Linked DNA regions of Homo sapiens: region 2 is linked to region 1. Evidence: promoter capture Hi-C in human tissues and cell types (Jung and others, 2019). All regions are on one chromosome and are shown on one strand. Each heading gives the region's core, a stretch centred on a gene start or on the middle of the fragment in contact. The rest is flanking DNA. Distances are from core to core; before and after follow the strand shown. Region 1 holds the start of HSD17B11 (hydroxysteroid 17-beta dehydrogenase 11). Region 2 overlaps HERC3 (HECT and RLD domain containing E3 ubiquitin protein ligase 3).

The links. Contacts are between HindIII fragments. The study calls those that stand out against the background at their distance.
Region 2: a fragment that was not itself captured here is called in contact with the fragment with the promoter of HSD17B11 in region 1 in 1 of the 25 tissues and cell types used here (aorta).

Annotation. Positions count from the first base shown.
Region 1 is chr4:87,388,866-87,392,820 of GRCh38, reverse strand. It overlaps HSD17B11 (hydroxysteroid 17-beta dehydrogenase 11), which reads left to right and starts at 1,633. Exons shown (of 7, transcript NM_016245.5): 1 at 1,633-1,960. The coding sequence starts at 1,751. RefSeq lists enhancers at 766-1,338, 1,352-1,421. The HindIII fragment of the contact is 3,840 bases long and covers 1-1,659 here.
Region 2 is chr4:88,605,769-88,609,723 of GRCh38, reverse strand. It overlaps HERC3 (HECT and RLD domain containing E3 ubiquitin protein ligase 3), which reads right to left. Exons shown (of 26, transcript NM_014606.3): 3 at 3,675-3,929. The coding sequence starts at 3,900. Among named protein-coding and RNA genes, the nearest start is that of HERC3, 15 kb to the right of the region's middle. The HindIII fragment of the contact is 4,074 bases long and covers 157-3,955 here.

The DNA.
Region 1 (3,955 bases), core at 384-2,883:
GTGTAGCCCCAGTTACACTTTTACTCACTGTGTAGATTTTAAAGTTGATCTAACAGATTTATTCATTTACAGTATAGGTATAAATATATCCTGACTCTACTTTTCTCTATTTCCTAGGAGGCTTTTGAAAATCAAATGAAATAATATATGTGGAAGAACACTTTGTAAACTTTCTATACAAGTGTTTTGTAAATTTGGATTTGGAGGCTATCCAAAAAAAAGTTGTAGATATTCTGAATTCAAAGAATTCTATAATGGGGTTCACTTTTGTGAGGCTGCCACTATCCCTTCATCCCCTATAACAACGTATGGCTGCTTAAGTAAGAGGGACAATCGAGTTTGAACTATTTGTGAACTTTGATTTTTTTGTGTGATCTTTCTGGCTCTTAAATATGAAAGTTGACTATTGTCACACAACAAAGTCCCTTCCCAAGCACTGGAGTGTCTTGCGCAAAACCCAAATCCAATGTCTGTCAAAAATGAGTTGGAAAAAAATGCATGCAATACCATTATTAAGCTCTTACTGGACACAAGCCCTAGTTAGGTCTTTTCTTCCAGTAACCAATCTCTAGAATTTTTTCAAGTCACTAGTTAGCATATACTGAATACCCATTTATATAGGCTACAAAACCAAATGTTACATAGGTAATCTTTAGGCTAAATGATTTGCTATTTATTCACTTGAATAAAGATAAAATTCCTAAAGTACAACATATATTTTTTATTTTCAAACTCTAATAGGTCAAGTGAAAAATGATTATTCAAATATACTCTTCTTTCTTGTGGAAACAATCCCTTTAATACGATAACAATTTTTTCTGGCGCTTGATTGAAGCTGTCCTTGAACAGACAAAATTTCCCCTGTCTTCCAGAAATCGTGCTTAGTTCAAACTAAAATGTGATGTAGCGCAATTTCTCAGCTGGAAGCAGAACGATTGGTCTTTTCAGGATCCTTTAAGATAGGAATCTACATTTGCATCCTCTATCTAGTTTTTGTTTTTTAGGACAAAGTCTGGCCTTTTCGTCCAGGCTGGAGTGCAGTGGCGCGATCTTCACTCACTGTAGCCTCCACCTCCTGGACTCAAGCAATTCCCGTGCCTCAGTCTCTCGAGTAGCTGGAACTACAGGCACACGCCACTACGCCTGGCTAATTAAAAAAAAAAAAAAAGAGACCGGGGGTCTCCCTATGTTGTTCAGGCTGATCTCGAACTCCTGGGGTCAAGCGATCCTCCCGCCAGGGCTTCTCAAAGTGCCAGGATCACAGGCGAGAGCCGCCGCGCCCAGCGGCACCCCCTATCTAGTGATAAGCAACCTTCAACTATGAAAGAAGCATCTGGCCTGTGGACACTGTCGGTTATCCTTGGAACTTATCCAATTTAGGAAAACAAGTGAGCAACTAACCCTCCAAGGCCGGCTCACGACACCGGGAGAAAGTGGTGTAAAAGACAATCGCGGCCACACACCGCGTGGGGGCTGCGCAAAGCAGAACTAGGAAGCTTTGCTCCGGTCTGGACTTCGTCCCTCCCAGATCTCTGAGCTAGCAAGCACTGCAGCCCGAGCCAATTGCGAAAGACCAACAAAGCCCAGCCCAGCGGAAGGAACGGTTTCGGAGTTGTTTTTCTTTGATACGGGAGTTCCTCCTTGCTCTCGCCCCTACTCTTTCTGGTGTTAGATCGAGCTACCCTCTAAAAGCAGTTTAGAGTGGTAAAAAAAAAAAAAAACACACCAAACGCTCGCAGCCACAAAAGGGATGAAATTTCTTCTGGACATCCTCCTGCTTCTCCCGTTACTGATCGTCTGCTCCCTAGAGTCCTTCGTGAAGCTTTTTATTCCTAAGAGGAGAAAATCAGTCACCGGCGAAATCGTGCTGATTACAGGAGCTGGGCATGGAATTGGGAGACTGACTGCCTATGAATTTGCTAAACTTAAAAGCAAGCTGGTTCTCTGGGATATAAATAAGGTAACAGTGTTTACTATGTTTTACTTTCTGGTACCTTTAATTTGTGGATGTGTCTGCATTTTGCTGGCAACCACCCTTTACCTCATCTCTGCAAAGCAGGGAGGAAAAAAAAATTAGTATTGCCATTTTGCAGATGGGAGGGCATGAATTAATATGTTGTATGATCACATGATAAACAGACCTAGAGGTTATAATAGTCCCAGTTACTGCCCCATTTGTAAATTGATCCCCATTTTTGCCCTAAGGATAACTCATAATTTTTTCCTGAACCTGATTTCATTGATCCCTCTATTTTAAAAATAGGGAAAAAACAATCGTTTTAGCTATATATTAAAAGAGTAAGAAGCTTGTACCTATTAAGAGAAAGTCCTACTTACTGTTAATGAGAAAAGTGGTTTGAAAGATTATACTCGCCGTTGGCTCACGCCTGTAATCCCAGCACTTTGGGAGTCCAAGGCAGGCGGATCGCGAGGTCAGGAGATCGAGACCATCCTAACACACTGAAACCCCGTCTCTACTAAAAATACCAAAAAAAAATTAGCCGGGCGTGGTGGCGGGCGTCTGTAGTCCCAGCTATTGGGGAGGCTGAGGCAGGAGAATGGCGGGAACCCCGCGGGGCGGAGGTTGCAGTGAGCCAAGATGGCGCCACTGCACTTCAGCCTGGGCGACAGAGCTAGACTCCGTCTCAAAAAACAAACAAAAAGATTATACTCAACAGAAACCAATGCTACATTGCCATAGTTATTGCCAAGAGTAATTTTAAAAAGCATCTTTTCCGGGAGGCTGAGGTGGGGGGTTGCTTGAGCCTGGGAGGTGGAGACTGCAGTGAGCTGTAAACGCCCCACTGCACTCCAGCCTGGGTGACAGAGTGAGACCCTGTCTCAAATTTTTTTAAAAAACATTTTTTACCACGTTTGACCTGTGATACTGAAGGAGTGGCGGGAAAGCATCTTTTAGTAAAAACAATAAAAGGGAAAAAAACTTTCAGTGTAATTTTTTACCTAGGACAAGTGTAGGTGTGGCTTAGGGAGGAGAAGAGGACCTAGAATCCAACCTTTTATTTGACCTTTGGTAGATGAACAAAGGGGTTTCTAGAAGATACCTGATGGCCTGAAACATTATCCATTACACACTAGTTGACATGCAATGCTGTAAACAATAATTCAAAGGATGTGAAGTTAAATGAGGGTTAACCCAGTGAGTGGCTGATGAAGACAGCAATCAACAAATAATGACTGTCTGCTGCTTAGACATTAGGGATAGGGTGACAAACAGAAAATAAGGTTCCATGACCTCAGTCTAGTAGGGAAAATGGACATTAAGTAATTACAAGTGCAGGCTGGATGCGGTGGCTCACACTTGTAATCCCAGCACTTTTGGAGGCCGAGGCGGGCAGATGACCTGAGGTCAGGAGTTCAAGACCAGCCTGGCTAACATGGTGAAACCCCATTTCTACCAAAAATACAAAAAATTAGTTGAGCGTGGTGGCGTGTACTTGTAATCCCAGCTACTCATGAGGCTGAGGCAGGAGAACTGCTTGAACCTGGGAGGCAGAGGTTGCAGTGAGCCGAGATCATGCCATTGCATTCCAGCTTGGGCAACAAGAGCAAAACTCTGTCTTAAAAATAAATAAATTAATTAAATTAAATTAATAAATAAAAAAGTAATTACAAGAGCAATGAAAAATACAACCCAGGTCCAGCCTGGACCAGCATGGTCAAGGTCTGGCATGGTGATATAGTCAGACACATCTGAGCTTTCGTTTTCTGATTGGGTAACTTACTCAACGTTTCCACAGCTTTAGTTCCTTTTCTGCAAAATGGATAAAATAACAATACATACCTCAAAAAGCTGTCAGTATGATATGAGATAATGCATACAAAGCATTTAGCACAGTGTGGTATAAGGTAAACACACTGCAGTGTTCTTATTATTCCTTGACAAAGTGTGGTTTAAGCTAAAATTTAAATGTATGTAAGAGTTAGTTAGGTTAAT
Region 2 (3,955 bases), core at 944-3,443, 1.2 Mb before region 1:
CTTTCCTGTAACATATTTCTCTGTCTGTAACACTACCAGCAGTTTTGTGGTGTCTTCTTTATCATGTGAATCCCCTTCACCAAGAACTATCTGATTAGAACAGGAAGTCTACTCCTTTTACAGGAAAGGGAACTGTGACTCAGAAATAGGAAGAAACTTGCCCAGGGACAGGCAATTATTTCCTGGTAGATAAAAAACTAGATCCCAGTTCTCAAACTCCCAGCTTAGGCTTCTTTCCCTGTAACTCCAGAGACAGTATCAGCCTTTACACGGGATGGTGAAACTGCACGGTAGCATAATTTCTGAGGCATGATATAAAACTGCCAGACACTGCATTCAATATTTACACAGATTACTCTACCTATGAAAGAGTATTATAATCCCCATTTTTATTTATTTATTTATTTTGGGGTTTTTTGTTGTTGTTGTTTGTTTTGTTTTGAGACAGAGTCTTGCTCTGTTGCCCAGGCTGGAGTGCAATGATGCAATCACAGCTCACCACAGTTTTGATCTCCAGGGCTCAAGTGACCTTCCAACCTCAACCTCCCAAGTAGCAGGAACAACAGGTACACACCACCATGCCCAGCTAATTTTTTTTTTTTTTTTTTTTTGCATCTGTATGTTGCCCAGGCTGGTCCCCAACTCCTTGGCAAGCAATCCTCTGGCCTTGGCCTCCCAAAGTGATGGGATTACAGGTGTGTGCCACCACACCTAGACTATAATCCTCATTTTAGATTAGAGATGTAATGCCTCCATTAGTTTTATCTGATTCCAAACTTCACCATAACCTTGCTGTCTCCATGGGAGGACTAGAAAGATCTCTTCCCAGTTCCCAAAATACTCCCTTCAAAGGCTGGCTAGAGTTGTACAAGTCCTTCAAAGATCATTGGAATGAAGTTCCTAAATCCTGGCTGAATGTAGACTGTTGGGCCATGACCCTCCAAATGCATTACTTGTTAGACACTGGCTCTGGCCTAGGGAAACAGAGGGCACATTTAGGAGCTTAATGTGAGACACAAGTGAGTTTTAACAGGAGGAAAAGAAAGAAGACTTGGTTTTTAATCTGTTCCAGTATGAAGACCATTTGAAAAAGTCAATCTTCTTCCTGCCACCTCCATGGTAGTTGTATATGATACCTTTGTATTCTATTAATTGGTAAAATACATAATAAATAGGATTTACTAATTTCTGAATTAGTGGCATTTTCAACTGAATTTTCATTTTAGTAAACAACAGAATAATTTGAAAACCTATAGTATTGAGTGCACTGTACATGGAATGGTGTTCATCTGTAGATGACTCTACAAACCCCTTCCTTGAAATCCCAAGATTTCAGGGTCCTCAGGTTAAGAAACCCCTGACTAGAACATGGGGTACTGCCCCCAGATGAGTAGGCCTGGTGCATTTCTCACAGCGGGCTTCCTGAAGGAACCTGGTGGCAAAGAATGAGGAATTGGAAGCTCATCAACCACACTTCACATCCTTCACAATTGTGCCTAAGCCCTGCAGCCCTCTTTCCAATGGGCAACATAAAAATTAACGATTATAAATTTACACTGACATTTTGGGCAGGGAAACTACGGAACATGGTCACTTACTATGGAAGGGAATAATAAACGTGAGAGAAGAGGGAGACAGTGTCACAGAAAAAATTTAATTCGTATTGATGCCAAATAAAATGATAAAATCATCTAGAAAAAACTGTAAGGTTATTCTTTAATGAAGCTTCAGTGTCTGGAATGATCTGTATTGAATGAAAAGAATGGCAGGTAACAAAAAAAGGGGCAAACACCTATGCTAGTGTGACAAATATGTGGTCACAATTTAAGACCCTACCTTAAAATTTCTCACCAAAAGAAGATTCATTTACACATCCTCACTACTAAGAGGACCTTATAAATCCATGCTACACATATACTGAAAGTCAAACTTAGATTCTTTAAAAGTAAAAATAGGGCCAGGAACAGTGGTTCGCACCTGTAATGCCAGCACTTTGGGAGGCCAAGGCAGGCAGATTGCTTGAGCTCAAGAGTTTGAGACCAGCCTGGACAACATGGCAAAACTCCGTCTCTACTAAAACAAAAATTAAAAAATTAGCAGGTGTATTGGCACATGCCTGTAGTTGTAGCTACTCAGGAGACTGAGACTGAGAGGATATCTGCAGCCTGGGAGGCGGAGGTTGCGGTGACTCAAGATGGCACCACTGCACTCCAGCCTGGGCGACAGAGCCAGATCCTGTCTCAAAAAAAAATGTAAAAATAGGTGGAAAAAAATAAAATCAACAAGCTTAAAATATGTGTAGCACCTGTTATAAATCAATTAAAAGCACTGAAATTTAAGGAAACGAATTAGTCCCCCTACCTTTCCAGCTTATCCTCTTCCATCACCCTCTCTTCCCAGTCTCACCACACTATTCAACATGCCTTGAACAAGTATTGCACCTTTATATTCACATCACTGGGTATCAGGTGTGCAATAAGCTTAGTGATGCTGCCACATTCATTCATACACCCAAGTGCACATGCATACACACACACACACACACACACACCAAAGTGCTACTCAACACCCAAAGGCAGAACCAATCTCCCCTCCCCTACACCTCTGGTGTACTCTTCAACTTACATAACACAGACTTGCATGACAGCATTTGCCATAAGGATCACTGCAGCCACATCATCACCATATCTCATTCATCCCTCCACTCATAACAGCAATCGCATTGCTTAGCACAAAACATGTAAGAGCATGTTGCAGAAACAAAGGAATGAATATAGGTAATCAGGAAGTAAAGTTTCTGATAGTGATTGTGTGAGGATTACCTATTCAAAAAACTGTCATATTTCTCAGCATTAAATTACTGGATGATATGATTTGGCTGTGTCCCCACCCAAATCTCATCTTGAATTCCCACATGTTATGGGAGGGATCCAGTGGGAGGTAAATGAATTATGGGGGCAGGTCTTTCCTGTGCTGTTCTCATAATAGTGAATGAGTCTTAAGAGATCTGATGGTTTTAAAAATGGGAGTCTCCCTGCACAAGCTCTCTTCTCTTGTCTGCCGCCATGTGAAACATGCCTTTCACCTTCTGCCATGATTGTGAGGCCTCCCCAGCCACGTGGAACTGTAAACCCAATAAACCTCTTTCTTTTCTAAACTGCCCAGTCTTGGGTATGTCTTATCAGCAGTGTGAAAACCGACTAATACAACGGGCAAAATCTATTTTATTCTAACTCTGAACTAACTAGTCACCTCCCCTCCCCAGGTAACTGATATTACATATGTTCTCTAAGAAGATAAAAAATAAAAAGTCTTGTGGTGGCGCATGTCTGTAATCCCAGCTAGTCAGGTGGCTGAGGCATGAAAATTGCCTGAACCTGGGAGGTGGAGGTTGCAGTGAGCCAAGATCTCACCACTGCACTCAAGCCTGGGCGACGGAGCGAGACCATATCTCAAAAAAAAAAAAAAAAGAAAAGAAAAGAAAAGTCTGCTTTTCCATCAAAAGGCTTGAATTAGACACAAGGGTTCCAAACAGGAAGGAATCCCTGCACCGTTCAAAAGAGCCTCCCTGAAAACCGAACACTTGGTGGAGAAAGCTCCATCTGGGCCCTCTGCCATTGTGTCCTCCAACTTTCCATTCTCACCAATAATCAAGACAGATAAGGTGCACTTACCTGGCTTGTTTCCTTCCCTCTCATGGCCCAGTTGCCCCTTGGTGTTCAAACCACATGTGTAAACTTCCCCATCTTCCAGCAGGAACACAGAGTGGTTTCCCCCACAGGCCACTTCCTTGACACTTCTGTCAGATATGAACCCACACACCTGGGGCTCAGCCACAATTCCCTGCAGGTTGGTGCTGATACCAGGTTGGCCCAGAGACCAATATCCCCAACATAACATTGTTCTTATCTTTCAGGGAATCATGTAGCCTAGGAGAGAGTTTAAAAAAATTATT